Regions from separate parts of the Homo sapiens genome. Here all the other regions are linked to region 1. The links are contacts of gene promoters, found by promoter capture Hi-C in blood cells and fetal thymus (Javierre and others, 2016). All regions are on one chromosome and are shown on one strand. Each heading gives the region's core, a stretch centred on a gene start or on the middle of the fragment in contact. The rest is flanking DNA. Distances are from core to core; before and after follow the strand shown. Region 1 holds the start of ZNF471 (zinc finger protein 471). Region 2 holds the start of ZNF8 (zinc finger protein 8). Region 3 has its middle 9.2 kb from the start of ZSCAN18. Region 4 holds the start of ZNF135 (zinc finger protein 135).

Region 1 (2,589 bases), core at 33-2,532:
GCTGGGAGGGTGGTGCACCCCAACTCCACGGGCACAGAAGTTCCTGCACTAGGGATTCTCTCGGACCTTGCCCTACATGTCTCTTCATCTGGCTATTTGTATCCTTTAAAATATCTTTTATAATAAACCAGTAAACATAAGTGTTTCCTTGAGTTCTGTGAGCTGCTCTAGCAAACTAATGGAACCCAAGGAGCCGGCTGTGGGAGCCCCAATTTATAGCACATCTCTCTGAAACACAGGTACAACAATCTGGAGTTTGGAATTGGCATGGGAAGTGGGGGACAGTCTTTTGGGACTGAGCTGTCTAACCTGTAGGATCTGATGTTTTCCAGGTAGCGTCAGAATTGAATTGGAGTAGCGGTCACCTGGCTGGTGTCTGCTGCAGACAGGTTTTTTTGACATGTTAAGACATTATAAGAGACAATAGAAAAAATGTATACGATACAACCTTCTCTGAGTTATATTTCTCCATAGCCCTTTTTACTGTTCATCAGACTGTTTATCTAACTCATGAATTTGTGGCTTGTCTCTCTCCGCTTCAAAGTAAATTACATAATAAGAGGACAGGGATTTTTTTTTCTCTGCTGTATCCCCCTGAATTGCTTTTCCTTATTTGTCTCACCTTCCAATACTAATTCTACAGTTCTCCTAGTCAGGGCTAGTCCCCTAAAACGGGGACCATTTCCATTTTGTTAAGGGGCTGAACGCGGTTCAAGCCTAGCAGATTGGTTCCAAAAACGTCGTGTTATTCACTGCCTCTGATCAGTGACATTCCCATTTGCAGCTGAAAGAGGTATTAATTCGCCAGAGTCACAACACGGTCGGGGTTCCTCGTCGCTGTCTTATTCCAAAATAAGCTTAACACAGAAAGATAATGACACTCCCACGGACTGGCACAGAAGGCCGCGCTCCGAATGACATCGCGATCACAGAGGCACAGACAGCGTCACAAAGCCCCACGCGTACTCACACCGAAGGCTCAGCCGTCGCGCGTTTCCCTCCCAGGCCCCAGGAACTAGTAACTAGGGACGCTTCTGGTCTCTAGGCGAGGAGAGGGGGAGAGCGCAATCTTTGCGCCTGCGCACACTCCTGCTCTTACCCGCCGGAACCCTGGGCCACGCCCGGCTCGCGTAATCACGCACTGCGCAGGCACCGCCCGCTCTGCTCTAAGGTCCCTCTCACTCCTTCAGCAGCCCGAGGACAATCCCCTCAACACTAGGCCACGCCTTGTCTCCGCCCCTCTCGTCCGACCCCTGGAGAGAGGCTGGCGCCTGCGCGATGGGGGGTTCCAGCGTCGACTCACGGAGTCCTTCGGATGAGAGCGTCTGGGTGCCAGACGAGGCCGGGGGTTTGTTTTGGGTGGTTTGGGAGTCCGAGCTCGAGGGCTGGGCCAGGAAGGGCAGGCGAGGCGGGCGGCTCCGACGCGGGTCGCGAAGGCCCAGCCGCGTCCTCTGTCCCCAGGACGACTACATTTCCCAGAGGCCAGCGGGGCGCGCGTACTCGAGTCTGCGGGGCGGAGGCCGCGGCTCGGGGCTGCTGGGCGTTCGGGGCGGCTTGGGGCGGCGGGACCACTGGAGTGAGCTGTGGGAGAGATGGGGGTGTGCCTGTGTGTAAAAGATCTGTCAGAGTGTGAGGCTCCGTGAGAGGGTGTGGTTTCTGTGTGTGTGTGTGTGTGTGTGTGACAGACCGAGAGTCCAGTGTGAGACCAGGGTATGTTCGTGTGTGACAGAGCGAGACGGGCCAGTGTGAGAGACCAGTGAGTGTGAGAGAGATAGGGATGTGCCTGCATTTGAAAGAGAGCGTGTGAAGCTCAGTGAGAGGTTGCGAGGTGTGTGGGTGTGTAAGTGTGTAACAGACCAGGTGTCCAGAGCGTGAGACCAGGATGTATTCGTGTGAGAGAGTGAGACGGGCTGGATGGAGTGTGAGAGACCAGTGAGTGTGAGAGATGGGCGTGTGCCTGTGTGTGAAAGGCCGGTCGGTCGGTGGGTGAGGCTCAATGAGAGGCCGGTGTGTGTTCGAGAGAGAGAAGAATCACCATGTATGCGAGACTAGACTGTGCAAGAACAGAGTGTGAGACTGTGGTATGTTAATGTGTGAAAGGGAGACCAGTGAGTGTGAGAAATGGGTGTTTTGGGTGAAAGACCCGTCAGTGTGTGAGGCCGTGTTATGTGTGTCTGACAGACTGAGAGAGACCAGAGTGTGAGACCAGGGTGTGTTCGTGTGTGAGAGACAACATAGCGTGAGACCAGTGAGTGTGAGAGAGATGAGCACGTGGCTGTGTGTGAAAGACCAGTCATTATGTGAGGCTCCTTGAGAGGCTGGTGTGTGTGTATGAGAGAGAGAAAGAGACTAAACTGTGAGAGTCCAAAGAGTGAGACTAGGTTATGTTGTTATGAGTTTGTGAGAGAGAGGGAGGCGATCAAAGTATAGGACAAAGTTATGTTTCCTGGCTTACGACTTCTAAGATCCTTGGAATCTCCAAAGTATTAAGTGTCTTTTTGCATGCTAATGATTGGTGGGCTGGCAGCCTGTAGGTTGATCACGGTAAGGGATGGTCACAAGAACAATCTAGGCAGGATTAGAGGGTTG
Region 2 (2,589 bases), core at 61-2,560, 1.8 Mb after region 1:
CGCCTCCCAGGTTCAAGCGATTCTCCTGCCTCAGCCTCCCGAGAAGCTGGGACTACAGGTGCCCGCCACCACGCCGGGCTAATTTTTGTATTTTTAGTAGAGACGGGGTTTCACCATATTGGCCAGGTTGGTCTCGAGCTCCTGACATCGTGATCCACCCGCCTCGACTTCCCAAAGTGCTGGGATTATAGGCGTTAGCCACCGCGCCCGACCTTTAATAAACATTTTAATGGACTACAACAGACCCACAGAAAAAGACACATCACAAAGTGAACACCCACAGGGAGAAGCAATAGGGCTGTCAGAGGCATTCGACCCAGAGCGACTCCATTTTGAGTGAGGGCTAGGAAAATGAGGCTGGGCTGCATTCCCAGAAAAGTAGGTATTCCTAACCTCTAGATGTTTACGGTTAAGGGAACAAATTAATAATGGGTACTAAAACAGACCCAGACTTGGGAGTGTCCAGATATCCCGGTATCTAGAGAACAAAGGCATTCCTAATTTTGCTTTAAAAATAATATCGATTCTTGAAAAATACAGTAAGAAAATTAATCCTTTTTCACAAACCCTTGTAGCAGAGCACATCTCCCCAAAATCTATTTTTAGCCCAAATATACACAAGCATTGTACCTAGGGTGCATACGTTCCTCTTACTTTCAGGAACGTCCTACTGTCTATGGGGTAGCTGTTTCACAACTTTACTTTCTCAACAAACTTGCTTTTACTTTGCACTGCGGACTCGCCCTGAATTTTTTCTTGCGCGAGATCCAAGAACCCTCCCTTGGGGTCTGAATCGGACCCCTTTCCTGTAACACAACCACCGCTCCCAGCCTCCCCGCTTCCAGCCGCTAAGCCCAAAGTCTTTTATATGAACAAACCTCTAACTCGTCCTGTGACTTTGATGCGTGTGCGTTTTAGGCACCGGGGAGCAGAGGGTAAAGCGGCGCAGCTCCGGGCCTCCTCCCGCGCAAGTTCCCGAGAAGAGCAGGTCCGGCCCGCGCAGACGTGCACGGTCCCCAGCCATTAGGAGGAGCAGACGGTCCCCACCCCCACAATCAGTCATCTCTCGGGGTCCGCCCTTGCTTCCTGCCCACGAGTGAGGCCTCTGGTTGCCCGCAACCTAAGGGGCATCGCAGCCCCGAGCAACACCGCCCCCACCAGCCTTAGCTGAGTGCTCCCATTGGCCAGAGGCCAGCGGGTGGGGGCTCCCATTGGCCATCGGCCATAATGCTTCCATTGGTCGAAGGCCAGACCAGCGGAGACTCCCATTGGCCGAGGGCTGTGGTTCGCCGCACGGCCTACTGGGAGTTGTAGTCGCCGCGTCGCCGGTGCGGCCGCCATTGTCCGGCGTTCGGCGAGTCGGGTGGTCCCTTTGGCTGGAGTGCCTCTCTGGTCTGGGGATCACCTCAGGCGCTGTCCTTCACTGGGCGATCCAGCATGGACCCCGAGGACGAAGGGGTAGCGGGAGTGATGTCTGTGGGGCCGCCGGCGGCCCGGCTTCAGGTAACAATAACAACAATAACGACGGCGGCGGGCTCCGGGCAAGCGTCTCCCGCGCAGACTGACCCTTTCACCTCGCGGCGCGATGAGAGCGGCACCGCTGTTAATGCCCTTGACACGTGGGGAAACTCAGACGCGGGTCGGGGCGTGGTGACCGTCCTGGCTGGTCAGAGAGGGGGCCGGGATTCCAACCAGGCGCCTGGCCCCCGAATGCGCATGCTCCACGCGGCTCTGTCCTCCCCAGGGCTGGGGTCGGTCATTCCCGAGAGAATCGAGCAGGCCCATCTCCTGCGTTCTGCTCCGCCCCGCCGACACCCTTGCCCATTCCAGGAAGGTCTGTCCTCGTGTTGACTGATAACAGTAATTGTAGCGTTGGCCGGGTGCCCAGATGGCAAGAATCATCGAATAGAGATGCTTTAACGCGTGGAGTCAGCGGACACCCACCGGGACCCCAGCACCGCGGAGCCCCTGCCCTGGGGCTTGGGCACAACCTCTTGGGGGCAATGATGGGTCACCACGCACTGAGTGTGATGAGAGTGACCACCAGGGTCGTCCCCTGCGAGACTGTGGGAGAACTGCAGTGCAGGGCGGTCAGTGTTTGCAGGGCCATCTGGCCATCAGAGCTCCACTTTCTAGACAAAGTGGTTGCGGCCTGTGTTCTCCATAAAGCTGCCTCGCGTGGCAGGAAACAACAATAATTATCCTTCCTCAAGCTCTGCAACTTTGAAATTATACTTTTTTTTATTTTTTGTCGTTGGTTTGTTCATGGGGATTTGCATTATTTCAGATTTGGTACACAAAGTGAGACTTGATAATCTTAGGTTGCAGGTTTTCAGATGTGTGTTGCTCCAAATTTGCATGAAATGCTACCACGTTTTATTTTGTTCTTGCTGTGGATGGGGGACAAGGAATGAGTCGTAAGAAAGGCTTGAGAGAAAGTGTATTAGTTACCTGTTGCTGTGTAACTCAAAACTTCGTGACCTGGAACAACAATAAATATCTCACGAGTTCTGACAGGAGTAATGGAATGTCCTAGCTGGTGGTTCTGGTTCAGGCCCATGAAGTTACAGTGAAGATGTCAGCATAGCT
Region 3 (2,589 bases), core at 29-2,528, 1.6 Mb after region 1:
TGCTAGATGCCATTAAGAGCATTCTAGGCCAGGCACAATGGCTCACACCTGTAATACTAGCACTTTGTCAGGATGAGGCAAGAGGATCACTTCGGCACAGGAGTTCAAGACCAGCTTGAGCAATATGGTGAGATGCCGTCTCTACAAAACATAAAAAAAATTAGCCAGGCGTGGTGGTGCATGCTGGTAGTTCCAGCTATGTAGGAGGCTAAGGTGAGAGGACAACTTGAGCCTAGAGGTCGAGGCTGCAGCGAGCCATGGTTGCAGCACTGCACTCCAACCTGGGCAACAGAATGAGACCATGTCTCAAAAGAAAAAAAGACATCTGGCTGGGCGCGGTGGCTCACGCCTGTAATCCCAGCACTTTGGGAGGCCGAGGCGGGCGGATCACGAGGTCAGGAGATCGAGACCATCCCGGCTAAAACGGTGAAACCCCGTCTCTACTAAAAATACAAAAAAAATTAGCCGGGCGTAGTGGCGGGCGCCTGTAGTCCCAGCTACTTGGGAGGCTGAGGCAGGAGAATGGCGTGAACCCGGGAGGCGGAGCTTGCAGTGAGCCGAGATCCCGCCACTGCACTCCAGCCTGGGCGACAGAGCGAGACTCCGTCTCAAAAAAAAAAAAAAAAAAAAAAAAAGAAAGAAAGAAAAAAAGACATCTGTTTTTTTTGTTTTTTTGTTTTTTTTTGAAATGGAGCCTCCTTCTGTTTCCCAGGCTGCAGTGCAGTGGCTCGATCTCTGCTCACTGCAACCTCTGCCTCCCAGCTTCAGGCAATTCTCCTGCCTCAGTCTCCTGAGTAGCTGGGATTACAGGTGTGCACCATCACGCCTGGCTAATTTTTTTTTGTATTTTTAGTAGAGATGAGGTTTCAGCATGTTGGTCAGGCTTGTCTCGAAATCCTGACCTCGTGATCTGCCCACCTTGGCCTCCCAAAGTGCTGGGATTACAGGCGTGAGCCACCGTGCCTGGCCAAGACATCTGTTCTTGAATAATGAGACTGGAAAGTCAAAATTACTCCTGATCTATGATGGGCTGCAGAATACATGTTGTGTTAGCAGGTGTGAGAACAACATTCATCTCCCTGTACATCTTCATCACAGCTCTTGTCAACAAGCAGCCATATTTTGAAAGGAATCTTTATTCTGAGGAAGTCTCAACAGTGGGTTTAAAATATTCAGCACAGGCCGGGCATGGTGGCTCATGCCTGTAATCTCATCACTTTTGGGAGGCCAAGGTGGGCAGATCACTTCAGGTCAGGAGTTCAAGACCAGCCTGACCAACATGGTGAAACCCTATCTCTACTAAAAAAAATACAAAACAATTAGTGTGATGGTGGGTACCTGTAATCCCAGCTACTTGCTCAGGAGTTTGAGGAAGGAGAATCGCTTGAACCCAAGAGGCAGAGGCTGCAGGGAGCTGAGATCACACTACTGCACTGCAGCCTGGGTGACAAGAGTGAAACTCTGTCTCAAAAATAAAATAAAATATTGAGTGCACCATGCGGTAAACACATGTGCTGTCATCCAGGATTTTTTCTTCCATTTATAGATGGAAAAACATATTTGTTACTTTCAAACAACATAAACTCTTCAACATGAAGTCTCTGACAAAGAGGAGGCAAAGAAAATCAGATCAGTCACTGCCACAGATGCTCACTGAATCCCCATAGGTCTCAGTCCAATGTGTCAACTCTGGTTTCTAGCGAGAGCACAGATACTTGGGAAAACTTTCCCACACTAGACACACTGGCACAAGGTCGCCTGAGCATGTACCTTCTTGTGCTTGGTCAGACAGGAGCTGTCCCTGAAGGCTTTGCCACACCGATTACACTCGTAGGGCTTCTCACCAGTATGAGTCCTCTGGTGCCAGATGAGGCCCGCGATGTTCCTGAAAAGTTTGACACTGGTTACAGCCACAGACCTTCTCACCAGTATGAATCCTCTTGTGCCTGATGAGGTACATAATCTCAGTGAAAGATTTTTTCACATTGTTTAACTCATGAGATTTCTTTCCAGAATGATTTTTTTGATGCAAAAGAGCTGACTGTTGTGGTTGGAGAATTTTTCACACTCCATACACATATAGGGTCTCTTTCCAATGTGAATTCTCCCATGTTTAATAAGTTATGTGTGATCAATGAAGGCCTTTCTACACCCAGTACATACATAGGGCTCCCCTCACATGTGAATTCTCAGATGGACAATAAGGTTGGAGACATCAGAAAAGGATTTTTCACATTCATTACATTCGAATAGTTTTTCCACAGTATGACTTCTGAAATGCAAAACAAGGGAAGAGTGGCAGCTGAAGGTCTTCCCATACCAATTCCTTTCACAGGGCTTCTTTCCTATGTGGGTTTTCTCATGCTTGGTAAAGGTGGAGCCAGCACTGAAGGCTTTCCCACTTCTTGCATTTATAGGATTTCTCTCCTGTGTGGATTTTTTGATGTACAATCAGGTTGTAATTCTTAGAGAGGGATTTTCCACAGTCATTACAGGTATAAGGGCTCTCTCCAGTATGAGTCCTCTGGTGACTGATGAAATGAGATTTCGGTCTAACGGACAGTCCACATTCACTGTCATTGTATTCAT
Region 4 (2,589 bases), core at 33-2,532, 1.6 Mb after region 1:
CCATGAGTTGTGTGTTCATACCTTTTGATCCAGTAAAAGGAAACGGTTGGGGGTGGGGGTGGGGGGCAAGAGTATACATTTTGTGAAAGAAAAAATACACAAAAAGATGTTTTGTGGCATTTGGGTTTGTGAGTTCGAGAACTGAAAAACGGCATTTTATGTATAATGGAAAGCCTCTTTACTGCTGTAGAGTGAAAAGCAGGCTGGCTTTCAGTGCGACGGTCACAAATGTGGGGCTTTACAGTACTTGGAATGTACAGGACGCCCTTAAAAGCCAAGAAGCTTGCCTTTGCTTTGTTTACATCAGTGCATTATGATTTTGAGCCATTATATCTCTTCATAATTGCCACTGTTTTAGGGCTTATGAAATTTAAAGTCTTAACTTGTGTGTTAACCAGCCAAATCTTTGCAAGTGTCTGTGTGTGGTACGAGAATTCGTATTGTGTTCTCTGCTGTTTTCAGAGTTGTTTCAGTCAAAGAAAAAAAAATGCCCGTCTTAAAACTTTTCCTCTGCTTCAAATACAGCTCCCAAGCCCAGGCTGATTGGAATTAATCTGTCCTCCCTTAAAAGGGCAAAAGCACAAGGCTCAGCCCTGGCTTTCCCAGCTCCTCTGGTCTCGCTGCTCCACGGACGTGTGACGTACGCTGGTGAAACGAAGCCCGCTTGAATGGGGGCTTCACTATTGTGTGCTGCTGAACCTAGGCCTAGCGCCTGGCAGGCTTTGGTGAATGTTCAGAAAATGACAATTCATTTCGTGTCAGCGAGGGCACACCAGCTTTGAATATTTTGCTGCTGTTCAAATGCACAATTTTGACAATTACCTAGCAATGTCCAAAGTCGTCATAATTGTTAGTGTCTTGCACGTGATGTTCCTTATAACCATGTAATAAATACAGTGTGAAGTCTCCATGGCTGCCTCAGTGTGGAAAATGCAAAGACTCCCGTGTGTGCGATCTTGGTGAATGTTTTGGTTGAAAGTATGTGTTTTGAAAAAATCATTGCTTTGTTTGCAGCAGTAAAACTGACGGTAGAGTTTCCAACACGAAAGCCCGTGTGGTCGCGCCGGGAGCTCACGGCGTTCCAAGCGGCACTTATCCCGCGTTGATGCCCAGGCACCCCGCGCGCCCTGTTTCACCAGGCCCAGTCACTCCAGCTCCAGCAGCACTGAGAGCTCACGAACGCCAAGGGCGAGAGCGAGGTGGGGGAGGGCGGCCGGAAATGCGCGCGCGGCTCTCTGGGAAATGGAGTTAGGCTCGCGCCGGCGCAGTGTCGGCTGCCGGTGCCGCGGCCTTTGTCTCGCAGTCAGGAGGGTGAGCTAGGCCGGCGAGGAGGGGGAGGGGAGGCCAGGCCGGGCCGGGCCGGGCCGGGTGCGGGGGGTCCGGGGATCTTCCTGAGGCCCTGGCGGGGCGAGTTTCCAGCAGCGCGCGTCTGTGTGGAGTCCGTTTTGCTGCCCGGGGCCTGGGGAAGGCCGTTTCGGGGCTGGCGGGGGCAGGCTTTGCGGGGCATCCCTAGTCTGAGAGGAGGGCGGGGCCCAACGCCCAGCTGGACAGGAGCTGCTCCGACGGCCCCTGAGGGAACGCGCGCCCCGCCCCTGGCCCCACCTCTGCCCCACACCGGGCACTGGGCCGCCACCTTTGTTGATGGAAGAGAGAAACTGAGGCATAGTGCCCAGGGCCAGGGGACCGCAACCACCCGGCCCTTGTCACTGTAGCGTTAAGGCTCAGAGTCTGCGCAGCAGATATGTGTCCGCACCCGCCAGGCCTTCAGCTTCCCTCAGACAGGCGGGAAAACCCTAGGCTGCCCTTCTCCGAGCGGAGGGCCGCCCCACACACAGCAGGCGCTTAAACGGGTACGCGGGGCCCTGGACGGCTCTCCGCGGAGCTCCCCAGGCTCTGGCGCAGTTCCCCGGCTTGGGGACCTGAGCACCGCCTCTGCCTGCCCCAGCTGCTCACCTCCCCTTTCCCACAGAGCAGGGCCAGCCGTTCCTGCCAGAAGCCAGGGCATGACCCCTGGGGTGCGCGTCTCCACAGACCCGGTGAGAATCTCGGCCTCCTTGCGCGTGTCCTCCACCTCGTGCCCGGCCTCCTCGCGCGCGGCCTTCTCACGCCCGGCCTCCTCTTTGCACCCCGTCCCTACTCGCGCTCAGCCTCCTCCTTGTGCCCGGCCCCTACTTGCGTGCCCGGCCCCTACTCGTGCCCGGCCTCTACTCGCACAACTGGCCTCTACTCGCGCACCTGGCCTCTACTGGTGCCCGGCCTCTACTCGTGCCCGGCCTCTATTTGCACATCTAGCCTCTACTCGTGTCCGGCCTCTACCTGCACACCCGGCCTCCTAAAGTCCGCGCCAAGCTCCCCAACCACAGCCTGCCTCTGAAAGGACCGCCCACGCCGCGCTGGAGGTCAGCGGGCACGGGTCCCTGTCTGAGTGGGCTTTATGTTTGTGCGGCCGTCATTGCATACCTGAGGCTGGGTGATGTCAGAAAATTGTAGGTGCCCCGGCTCTGCAGTCTGAAGTTGAAGGCCTTAGCATGCTCTGCGCTCCAAGATGGCGCATCGAGTGCCGCTTCCTCAGACGTCATGGAGGCCAAG

What was found. Contacts are between HindIII fragments. The CHiCAGO score rates a contact against its expected background, and 5 or more counts as called.
Region 2: the fragment with the promoter of ZNF8 here is called in contact with the fragment with the promoter of ZNF471 in region 1 in 1 of 17 cell types (M1 macrophages); the score reaches 5.2 in M1 macrophages.
Region 3: a fragment that was not itself captured here is called in contact with the fragment with the promoter of ZNF471 in region 1 in 2 of 17 cell types (erythroblasts and activated CD4 T cells); the score reaches 5.8 in erythroblasts.
Region 4: a contact is called between the fragment with the promoter of ZNF135 here and the fragment with the promoter of ZNF471 in region 1, in 2 of 17 cell types (activated CD4 T cells and non-activated CD4 T cells). The highest score is 6.6, in activated CD4 T cells.

What each region holds. Positions count from the first base shown.
Region 1 is chr19:56,506,573-56,509,161 of GRCh38, forward strand. ZNF471 (zinc finger protein 471) reads left to right here and starts at 1,283. Exons shown (of 5, transcript NM_020813.4): 1 at 1,283-1,348. The HindIII fragment of the contact is 1,838 bases long and covers 856-2,589 here.
Region 2 is chr19:58,277,645-58,280,233 of GRCh38, forward strand. It overlaps ZNF8 (zinc finger protein 8), which reads left to right and starts at 1,311. Exons shown (of 4, transcript NM_021089.3): 1 at 1,311-1,503. The coding sequence starts at 1,438. It overlaps ZNF8-DT (ZNF8 divergent transcript), which reads right to left and starts at 1,098. Exons shown (of 3, transcript NR_187495.1): 1 at 879-1,098. ZNF8-ERVK3-1 (ZNF8-ERVK3-1 readthrough (NMD candidate)) reads left to right here and starts at 1,322. Exons shown (of 7, transcript NR_144447.1): 1 at 1,322-2,589. RefSeq lists enhancers at 1,387-1,436, 1,857-1,906. The HindIII fragment of the contact is 22,069 bases long and covers 1-2,589 here.
Region 3 is chr19:58,106,094-58,108,682 of GRCh38, forward strand. It overlaps a transcript of ZSCAN18 not described here. Among named protein-coding and RNA genes, the nearest start is that of ZSCAN18, 9.2 kb to the left of the region's middle. The HindIII fragment of the contact is 4,764 bases long and covers 1-2,589 here.
Region 4 is chr19:58,058,000-58,060,588 of GRCh38, forward strand. ZNF135 (zinc finger protein 135) reads left to right here and starts at 1,283. Exons shown (of 5, transcript NM_001289401.2): 1 at 1,283-1,311; 2 at 1,970-2,036. The coding sequence starts at 2,004. The HindIII fragment of the contact is 3,956 bases long and covers 281-2,589 here.